Linked DNA regions of Homo sapiens: all the other regions are linked to region 2. The links are contacts of gene promoters, found by promoter capture Hi-C in blood cells and fetal thymus (Javierre and others, 2016). All regions are on one chromosome and are shown on one strand. The core of a region is centred on a gene start or on the middle of the fragment in contact, and the rest is flanking DNA. Distances in the headings are between cores, read along the strand shown.

Evidence for each region. The method cuts DNA at HindIII sites, captures the fragments that hold promoters and counts their contacts. A CHiCAGO score of 5 or more calls a contact.
Region 1: a contact is called between a fragment that was not itself captured here and the fragment with the promoter of EPOR in region 2, in 2 of 17 cell types (total B cells and naive B cells). The highest score is 7.0, in total B cells.
Region 3: a contact is called between the fragment with the promoter of ANGPTL8 here and the fragment with the promoter of EPOR in region 2, in 2 of 17 cell types (neutrophils and M1 macrophages). The highest score is 9.4, in neutrophils.

What each region holds. Positions count from the first base shown.
Region 1 is chr19:11,587,233-11,590,717 of GRCh38, reverse strand. It overlaps the pseudogene GAPDHP76. Among named protein-coding and RNA genes, the nearest start is that of ZNF627, 8.5 kb to the left of the region's middle. The HindIII fragment of the contact is 6,110 bases long and covers 1-3,485 here.
Region 2 is chr19:11,382,439-11,385,587 of GRCh38, reverse strand. It overlaps EPOR (erythropoietin receptor), which reads left to right and starts at 1,274. Exons shown (of 8, transcript NM_000121.4): 1 at 1,274-1,495; 2 at 2,356-2,491. The coding sequence starts at 1,381. RefSeq lists a silencer at 1,975-2,034. The HindIII fragment of the contact is 13,821 bases long and covers 1-3,149 here.
Region 3 is chr19:11,238,100-11,241,681 of GRCh38, reverse strand. It overlaps ANGPTL8 (angiopoietin like 8), which reads right to left and starts at 2,063. Exons shown (of 4, transcript NM_018687.7): 1 at 1,748-2,063; 2 at 1,386-1,547; 3 at 128-237; 4 at 1-22. The coding sequence starts at 2,044. DOCK6 (dedicator of cytokinesis 6) reads left to right here. Exons shown (of 48, transcript NM_020812.4): 15 at 3,378-3,495; 16 at 3,567-3,582. The HindIII fragment of the contact is 20,410 bases long and covers 1-3,582 here.

The DNA.
Region 1 (3,485 bases), core at 803-3,302, 200 kb before region 2:
TCCAGACTGGGCAACAAGAGGGAAATTGTCTCAAAAAAATAAAAATAAAAATAAATAAAATAAAAAATAAAAACAACCTTGAGACAAATATGAAAATCCAACATATCAAAATGTATGGAATGCAGAGAAAGCAGTGCTAGAAGGAAAAATTTATAGCTGTAAATACATTCATTGAAAAAGAAGAAGCCTGGGCAACATGGCCAAACCCTGTCTCTACAAAAAATACAAAAATTAGCTAGGTATGGTGGTGCACGCCTATAGTCCCAGCTACTGGGGAGGCTGAGGTAGGAGGATCGCTTGAGCTTGAGAGGTCGAGGTCACAGTGAGCAGATGGTGCCACTGCAGTCTAGCCTGGGCAACAGAGTGAGACCCTATCTCAAAAAAAAAAAAAAAAAAAAAAAAAGAACTCAATAAAACATATGTATTCATGGCCTGGCATGGTGGCTTACAACTGTAATCCCAGCACTTTGGGAGGCCGAGGCAGGAGGATCACCTGAGGTCAGGAGTTTGAGACCAGCCTGGCCAACATGGCAAAATCCCATCTCTACTAAAAATACAAAAGAAACAAAACAAAACAACAACAACAACAACAAAACATATGTATTCCTTCCTGCGGATCATGAATACTGAAATAATTGGGGGTACCGGCTGGGCGTGGTGGCTCACGTCTGTAATCCCAGCACTTTGGGAGGCCGAAGCAGGCAGATGACCTGAAGTCAAGAGTTTGAGACCAGCCTGGCAAACATGGGGAAACCCCGTCTCTACTAAAAATACAAAAAGTAGCTGGGCGTGGTGCCGGGGGCCTGTAATCCCAGCTACTTGGGAGACTGAGACAGGGGAATCGCTTGAACCCGGGAGGCAGAGGCTACAGTGAGCCGAAATTGCGTTACTGCACTTCAGCCTGGACTCCATCTCAAAAAAATAATAAATAATTGAGGATGGTGAACAAAACCTTGGGTGGAGAGAAATGGGTGCCTAGTAATAACGGGATTAGAGGAACGAGTGTCCATTGGTGTTGTTGACTGTGAGGTGGGTCGTTGTGGAGTTCACAGCTGAGGGAGATCTGTGTGGGGCTCCTTCCTGCCCTGGCTATGGCTTACTCCAGCCGGTCCCCGCATCCTCCCGTGCCCGCTGACAGCCTTGCTGCAGGAGGGGCACCAGAACTTCTCAGCCTGCTACTCCCAAGCAGTTCAGCGGTACCCAGGATAGAAGGACCAGGAGCTGGAGTGGATAAGTCAGGTAACCATGGAATCAGTGGGCACCGGCTGGGATGAAAAGGAGGACAGGGGTTAGGTGGGGCTTGGGTGGGGTTTTCCTCCTTGCCATCCAACTGGCTCAGCAATGGCTGAGGCAAGGAAGTCACCATTTGCTTTCACTTGATGGTGGAGACGATGGATGTTTTTACTCTGGGGGCTAGAGCTGGTGGATATCTGAGAGGATGTGGGGAGGGGTTGGGGGAGCATGATGGGGTCTAGAGAGTAACGGGAATGTTTGATCACGAGGATCAAACATTCAAACATTCAAATGATCAAACGTTCAAATCATTGAGGAAAGAGGTGGGAGTTAGGTAATATAAAGACCAACTCCTGGCCGGGCGCGGTGGCTCACGCCTGTAATCCCAGCACTTTGGGAGGCCGAGGCGGGCGGATCAAGAGGTCAGGAGATCGAGAGCAACCTGGCTAACACGGTGAAATCCCGTCTCTACTAAAAATACAAAAAATTAGCCGGGCGTGGTGGCGGGCACCTGTAGTCCCAGCTACTTGGGAGGCTGAGGCAGGAGAATGGCGTGAACCCGGGAGGCGGAGCTTGCAGTGAGCCGAGATAGCGCCACTGCACTCCAGCCTGGGTGACAGACTGAGACTCCATCTCAAAAAAAAAAAAAAAAAAGAAAGAAACCAACTCCTTGGCATGACAGACCCCACCTCACCTCTCCCGATTTGGGATTTTGTTTGTTTGTTTGTTTTGGTGGAATCTCGCTCTGTCGCCCAGGCTGGAGTGCAGTGGCACGATCTTGGCTCACTGCAACCTCCACCCCCTGGGTTCAAGCATTCTCCTGCCTCAGTCTCCCGAGTAGCTGGGCTTACAGGCGCCCGCCACCACACCTGGCTAATTTTTTATATTTTGGTATAGACGAGGTTTCACCATGTTAGGCAGGCTAGTCTCGAACTCCTGGCCTCAAGTGATCCACCCGCCTCGGCCTCCCGAAGTGCTGGGATTACAGGTGTGAGCCACTGAGCCCAGCCCCATTTGAGATTATTGACCCACCTGGAACCTAGCCAGACTGAACTGGTGGCAGCAAACTACAACAGTGAACAGCTACATTTACATCATGCCACCCTCCAAACCACCAGCCTGACCCTCCACAGCTCATCCTGCCCTCCCATTCTCCAGACTGAAAATCAGTCCCTTAGCCTGTGCGAGCCCCACCAAATCCATAATTCCACCTCCCGTGCACTGAGGCAGGCATGGGGGTAGCCAGTCACCAGGACACCTTCACACCCATGCAGCTGAACTGTGCTGACTGATAGCGCCAAGGAGCTCATGGCGAGTGAGGCAGAGCCCCATCCAAGCCAGGGTCCTCTTTCCAGGCTTTTACCCAGTGCCTACTCAGAACTGCCTATAGATCCCCTCCTCTGAGAATCTCACCAGAGCAGACACGGTTTGCAATTTCCTGGGAATCCGGCTGCTCATCATGTTATCCTACAAACATTCCAGTCCCAGCATACCTCACTCATCCCACCCCTGGAATTTTCTCTGGGGCAGTCTCTGGCTGGATCCACTGTAGAATCTGTCCACGCCCTGCACAGGCCTAGTGGCAAGTGGGGGGCTGGAAGGAGCATTAATTTCTTCTCCAAAAGGGAAACTGGGTCTGCGTTCGGTGCTGCAGTTCAGGCTGTGGCCATGCAGGGGCAGCAGTGGACAGATAAAAACGTCTGAAAAAGGCGCTCAGGCTGCGGGAACAGTAGACCATCCCCAGGGACTTCACTGCCCAAGGCATCTGCCTAATTTCTCTCTCCTCTCCTCTGCCTAATTTCTCTCTCCTCTCCTCTCCTCTCCTCTCCTCTCCTCTCCTCTCCTCTCCTCTCCTCTCCTCTCCTCCCCTCCCCTCCCCTCCCCTCCCCTCCCCTCCCCTCCCCTCTTTTCTCTCTCTCTCTCTCTCTCCTTTCTCTCTCTCTCTCTGTCTAATCTGTCTATCTTCTATCCATCCGTCTATCATCTATCTATATTGGAGACAAAGTCTCACCATATTGCCCAGGTTGGTCTCAAACTCCTAGGCTCAAGCAATCTTCCCACCTGAGCCTCCCTAAATGCTGGGATTACAGGCAAGAGTAATTTTCATTTTTTGTTTTTTTTTTGTTTTTTTTTGTTTTTGGTCTAAGTACAGAGGACCTTACTGCTTTATTGATAGGCCCTGTTCTTCAGGGGGTCTGGCATGGAAACTGTGTATGGGGAGATTTTCAGTGTGGTGGGGGGCTGAGTGCAGC
Region 2 (3,149 bases), core at 25-2,524:
TTTTAGTAGAGACGTGGTTTCGCCATGTTGCCCAGGCTGGTCTCGAACTCCTGACCTCATGATCCGCCTGTCTCGGCCTCCCAAAGTGTTGGGATTACAGGTATGAGCCACCGCGCCCAGCCAATTATTATTATTTTTTGAGATGCAGTCTCACTCTGTTGCCCAGGCTGGAGTTGCAGTGGCATGATCTTGGCTCACTGCAATCTTCATCTCCCAGACTGAAGCAGTTCTCATGCCTCAGCCTCCTGAGTAGCTGGGATTACAGGCACACGCCACCACACCTGGCTAATTTTTGTATTTTTAGTAGAGATGGGATTTCACCATGTTGGCCAGGCTGGTCTCAAACTCCTGACCTCAAGTGATTTGCCCACGTCGGCCTCCCAAAGTGCTGGGATTATAGGCGTGAGCCACCGGGCCCAGCCCAAGAGAATAAAAATGTGGGTGGTAAAAATTTTTTTCCCAAAAATTCGTAAATGAAAATCTCACATATTATGCATACTGCCCAGGAGCATGGCCTAGCACTGTGCAAACACTCAACTGCTGGTCGTTGCAAGGATTATTATTGGCCGGCTTCAGTGGCTCGTGCTGGTATTCCCAGCACATTGGGAGATGGAGGCTGGAGGATTGCTTAAGTCCGGGATTTCAAGACCAGCCTGGACAACATAGTGGGATCCCATCTCTACAAAGAATTTTAAAAATTAGCCAGGTGCAGTGGGAAGATTGCTTCAGTCCAGAGGCTGCAGTGAGCTATGATTGTGCCACTGCACTCCAGCCTGGGTGACAGAGCAACACCCTGAGACAGAGAGAGAGAGGGGGAAGGAGGGAAGGAGGGAAGGAAGGAAGGAAGGAAGGAAGGAAGGAAGGAAGGAAGGAAGGAAGGAAAGGAGAGAGAGAGAGAGAGAGAGAGAGAGAGAGAGAGAAAATAATTTTTATTTATTTCCAGGCTGGGAAGAGATGCTGATTTCTGCGATAAAATCAGTAGGTACATTTTTTGGAATGTTCGCTATGTGCCAGGCTAGATTTTACAGATGAGAAGTCTGAAGCTCAGGTAAGGTAAGTCACCTGTCCAGGGCCACAAAGAAAAAAAAAACGTGTGTCTGAAGCCAGAACGGGAGCTGTTGCGGCCCAACTCCCTCCCCTGCCCCCAAGCGGCCTCTGGGCTCGGGAAGGGCCCCTGCCTCCTCCCGCCAGGCACTTATCTCTACCCAGGCTGAGTGCTGGCCCCGCCCCCTCGGGGATCTGCCACTTAGAGGCGCCTGGTCGGGAAGGGCCTGGTCAGCTGCGTCCGGCGGAGGCAGCTGCTGACCCAGCTGTGGACTGTGCCGGGGGCGGGGGACGGAGGGGCAGGAGCCCTGGGCTCCCCGTGGCGGGGGCTGTATCATGGACCACCTCGGGGCGTCCCTCTGGCCCCAGGTCGGCTCCCTTTGTCTCCTGCTCGCTGGGGCCGCCTGGGCGCCCCCGCCTAACCTCCCGGACCCCAAGTTCGAGAGCAAAGGTAAGGATGAGCTGCGTGTGGACCCCTACGCTGGAGCCTGCAGGACCATGCTGGGGCCTGAACTCCCAGCCTAGGTCCTGGGGGCCATGCCTGTTTCTGGACTTCCTGACCGGGTCCTGGGGGCCAAGCTGGCATCTGAACCCTTAGACTGGGTCCTGGATGGGTGGGGGGCGGGGTGGGGTATGTTAGGATCCAAGACTCCTGATCGCGTCCCGGGCAAGAGCTAGAGTGGGCTTAACATTCCCGTTTTACCTTTTCAGGGAGTCTGGGACATGCTAAATCCTAAGGGGGCTGACTTGGTGCTAAGGTCCCTGGGGGGTGGGGACCAAGCCGACCCTCCCTAGGGGAGGGAGGGTAAAGCCCGGGTCCGAGTTAGAGGGGCCAAGCCACAGGCTACTGTAAACACGGTTTGTGTGAGGGCGCCAGATCACTTGCCCGGCCCGGTGGAGGGAGGGAGGCGGGGGGCACGGTTGGCGCTATCGGTTGGCGGGGAGCCTGCCGGGGCCGATAGGGGGCCCGCCTCTCCGCACACACCCCCAGCCGCGCGCGTGTCCTAGGCTGGGGCGGGGCTGGCAGTCCCGAGCTCGAGGTCTTGAACGCCGCGCCCAGCTCAGCTGGCCGCTGGGTGGGCAGGTGTGCGCCAGTGGTGACGGCGGGGGACAGTAAGGCGAGAAACTTGCCCCTGGGAATTAGGGGGGCACCACCTCTGCGGACCCCTCCAAGGGACCCGCTTGGGAAGATGGCAGGGCGGGGCTTTTTTCTTATCGGGTCCGCCCAGGCTGCGGGAGGGAAGAGGAGGGGGCTGTCTCCCGAGGATAGAGCTCAGACCCCCATGCCCTTCCTTTGTCGCCCCTCCCCAGCGGCCTTGCTGGCGGCCCGGGGGCCCGAAGAGCTTCTGTGCTTCACCGAGCGGTTGGAGGACTTGGTGTGTTTCTGGGAGGAAGCGGCGAGCGCTGGGGTGGGCCCGGGCAACTACAGCTTCTCCTACCAGCTCGAGTGAGTCCGATCCGGCGGGTGCCTCCAAGGGCGGAGGGAGGGGGTGGGGCAGAGCTCCCTGGAGGTCGTAGCCTCGTATGTCCCCTGCTGTTTGAGGCCCGACGGCGCCTCCAGTCGTGGTCACTGGAGGGAAACCTGCGGGTCCAGGGCTGGCACGCCCTCTATGGGCCGGGGCGCGAACACTCCCGCGATCACCGCTGGAACGCGACCCCAAACATCAGGCTGGGATAACAACGCCTCCAAATCGAGGGTAAGGCGTTACTACGTCGGGGCTGGGACGCCTTCTCGAGGTAGTATCCAAAAGGAGGCCAGCAGTGGCTCATGCCTGTAATCCCAACTCTTTGGAAGGTCGAGGCGGAAGAACCGCTTGAGCCCAGGAGTTCAAGACCAGCCTGGGCAACACAGCGAGATCCCCGTCTCTTAAAAAAAAATTAGACTGGGCGCGGTGGCTCACGCCTGTAATCCCAGCACTTTGGGAGGCTGAGGCGGGCGGATCACCTGAGGTCGGGAGTTTGAGACCAGCCTGGCCAACATGGAGAAACTCTATCTCTACTAAAAATACAAAATTAGCCGGGCGTGGTGGCGCATGCCTGTGATCCCAGCTACTCGGGAGGCTGAGGCAGGAGAATCGCTTGAACCCGGGAGGCGGAGGTTGCGG
Region 3 (3,582 bases), core at 814-3,313, 140 kb after region 2:
TGGGAGCGCCGCTGTGTGGAGTCTGGGGAGGGAGATGTGGCTCAGCCCAGGTGAGGGGGCCCCTTTCCAGCTGCCCTGTGCGCCCCCCATCCAACTGCCCTGCCTGCCAAACCCCTGCCAGGCTCACCTCTCCTGGATCTGTCGCAGCCGATGCTGCTGTGCCACCATCTCCCGCCTCTGCCGCTGCACGTGGCCTGTGAGGGCCCATAGGATGTGGCTCTGCTTGTCAGCGTGAGCCTGTGGGGGTCAGAATGGAAACCTCAGCCGACAGCCACCTCACCTCCCATCCCCTGACCCTCTGCCCCAGCCCCTCATTGTATCTGTGTGACCCAGCAAGTCAACAATGCTCTTTGGCCTCAGTTTCCCCATCTGTAAAATGGGGATAAAATAGGACTCACTTCATGGGGAGGTGATGAACATCCTATGGATTTTTTTTTTTTTTTGAGTCTCTCTCTGTCACCCAGGCTGAGTGCAATGACACGATCTCAGCTCACTGCAACCTCCACCTCCCAGGTTCAAGCGATTCTCCTACCTAAGCCTCCTGAGTAGCTGGGACTACAGGCATGTGCCACCACGCCCAGCTAATTTTTTGTATTTTTAGTAGAGACGGGGTTTCACCATGTTGGCCAGGGTGGTCTCGAACTCCTGACCTTAAGTGTTCCACCCACCTTAGCTACCCAAAGTGCTGGGATTACAGGCATGAGCCACCATGCCCGGCCATCATATGGATTATTAAAGGGCATAGAACAGTGCTGGGTACTTACTGGGTGCTCACAAAATGTTACCAGTTTCTCTAGTAGTAAGAATTTATTGGCCAGGTGTAGTGGCTCACACCTGTAATCCCAGCACTTTGGGAAACCGAGGCAGGCAGATCCCTTGAGGTCAGGAGTTCGAGACCAGCCTGGCCAACATGGTGAAATCCCATCTCTACTAAAAAATACAAAAATTAGCTGGTGCACCTGTAATTCCAGCTACTCAGGAGGCTGAGGCAGGAGAATCACTTGAACCTAGGAGGTGGAGGTTGCAGTGAGCCAAGATCACACCACTGCACTCCAGCCTGGGCAACAGTGAGACTCTGTCTCAAAAAAAAAAAAAAAAAGAATTTATTGAGCACCAACTGTGTGCCCGCCCCATGCTGAATATTTTACCTGCATTGAGTACCTGGCCCTACTGTGAGATATCAGGTGTTGCCCTTATTTGCAACTGAGGCACACAAAAGGGAAACTGAGGCACACAAAAGGACTTGAGTTTTGTCTGGGGACATGCAGGGTAGAGGCCACAGAGCTGGGAGGCTGATCTGGGAGGTCTTTGGGACTCAAGGTGCAGAAGCGAGTTCTGGCCGGAAATCAGGGTCTCAGCCCACTAGGGTTGGGGGAGCTCCTTACCTTTAAGACCTCAAATTCTCGGTAGGCAGGGCCCAGCCAGGCGCTCCTCAGCTGGACTTCTAGCCGCTGCACGCTGTCCCGTAGCACCTTCTGTGCCTGGGCCACCTCCCCCAGCACCTCAGCTGTGGCCTCTGCCTGCAGCTGCAGAATATCCTCCTCCATCTGCTTAATAAACAGTGGGTCACTAGTAGGATGTCCAACTCATCTTTGTGTACCTAAGGACTTGCCTGAGTTTATCGCTGAAAATCTTGTATCCCAGGAATCCCTTCAGTCCTGGGCAAACCAGGATGGTTGGTTACCCTAGACACGAACTCCTCTTTGGACTCCTGGCCACCCCACAGTGTCGCAGCTACGGTGCCCACCTGAGTCTCCAACAGGCTTGCCCGAAGTTCCTGGGCTGCATCCCGGCCCCGGCTGACCTCCTGCCCCAGGAGTTCTATTGTGCGGCCATAGAGACCCAGGCTGTTCCTGGCCTTTGTCAGCCGTCCCTCCGTGGTCCTGTACACACCGTTGAGGGCCTGGCCCAGCTGCAGGGTCCCATGGAAGAGCAGGGTCAGCTCCTCATGCTGTGCCAGTTCTGGGCCGCCCATGGGGGCCGCTGAGGCAGGCCGGGTCACCATTGCCAGGGCCCAGAGCAGGCACAGAGCAGGCACTGGCATGACTGAGGGTCTAAGGTATAGCCACAGCACTGTCACTGAAGCCTTTTATGCCTCATACCCCCACTGATCCCCAGTCAATCGTTAACTGGCCGACCTGGTGCCCCGCATTGCACAAGGGCCTGGCAGTGGTGCGATAGTTGCATCAGGCGAATGTCCGGCTAGGCCACGCCGGGATCACGCTTCCTGGGGCTCAGGGCCAGGTGTGGGTGGGGGGCATTGGGAGAGGACGGGCCCCAGACCCTGCTGGGAGTTCCTGAGACTCACCATGCTGAGCCTGTTTCTCCATCTATGAATAGGCATCGCAATGATGATGGTAATAACAGTAAAGATTTTATAAGCATTGATGGTTTGCCCTGAGCTGTTTGACCTGCCATTACAATATCTGCTCTTGTTCCCCTCCCACATACTTGCCACGTGGGGGCTTTTATTGGCCTGGTTAGTATCCAAGGGGGCAGGTGCAGGTGGCAGAGACTCTCCCAAGGTCACACAGCCTGATCTCCAAGACCTGCATATGCCCAGATCACCACTGACTGCCATTTTACTCCGTGGGTGATTGTGCAAGTACCTCAGTTTCCCTGCTTGTAAAATGGCGGTGATGTTAGTCCTGCCTCATGAGCTACTTGTGAGAAGTAAATGAGTTATTTCATGTTGAGTGCTTAGAACAGAGCCTGGCACACAGTAGGCGCGATTATTTCATTGTTGTAGTAATAGTGTTTGGTGCAATTATTGTCATTGTTGTTATTTATCATCATCAGTATCATTACAAAGGCTCAGCTGGAAGGCCTGAAGTGCCCATTATACACATAGGGAAACTGAGGCCCAGAGAGGGGTCAAGGCTTGCACAGAGTTGCCCCTGGGGGAAGGAGGCAGGACTCGGACTCTGGCCTCAGTTTCCCCACCTGAGAAACAGGCCACATAACTCTAGTGACCTCCTGGGGGAAGGGCAGTCAGGCCCTTGGGTGGGGCTTAGGCTTGACCACTGGCCACCTGAGGTACCTTGGAACTCTGGCCCTGAGTGCCTCGCTATTCTCTGCCTTCTGTGTGTCACTGTGCCCCATGAGTGCCTCCAATGTCCTTCTGTATTCCCACCCTCTACCACACTGTTCCCAATCTGTGTTTTTAGGGTGCTCGCTTGTCCCCCACCCTCTGCCCTCTGTCCTATCTCCTGACTGATACCTGTATTACCTCTCACCGGGCCCTCAATGCCCCAGCCTCATGACCTACTCTTCCTGGACTGTCTGTGCTCCCAGCCAGCCTTGTCCCATCACCCCAGCCTTGTATGTGCACCTTCAGGGCCCCTGTCCCTCTGACACCCCCATCCTGCCCCCCACAGGAACCTGCTGTACGTGTACCCGCACAGCCTCAACTTCAGCAGCCGCCAGGGCTCCGTGCGCAACCTTGCTGTGCGAGTGCAGTACATGACAGGCGAGGACCCCAGCCAGGCTCTGCCGGTCAGTGGCTGTGCCCCAGGGAAGGGGGGTAGGGCATCCCCCATGGGTCCCTCATGAATCCACTCTCCCAGGTCATCTTTGGCAAGT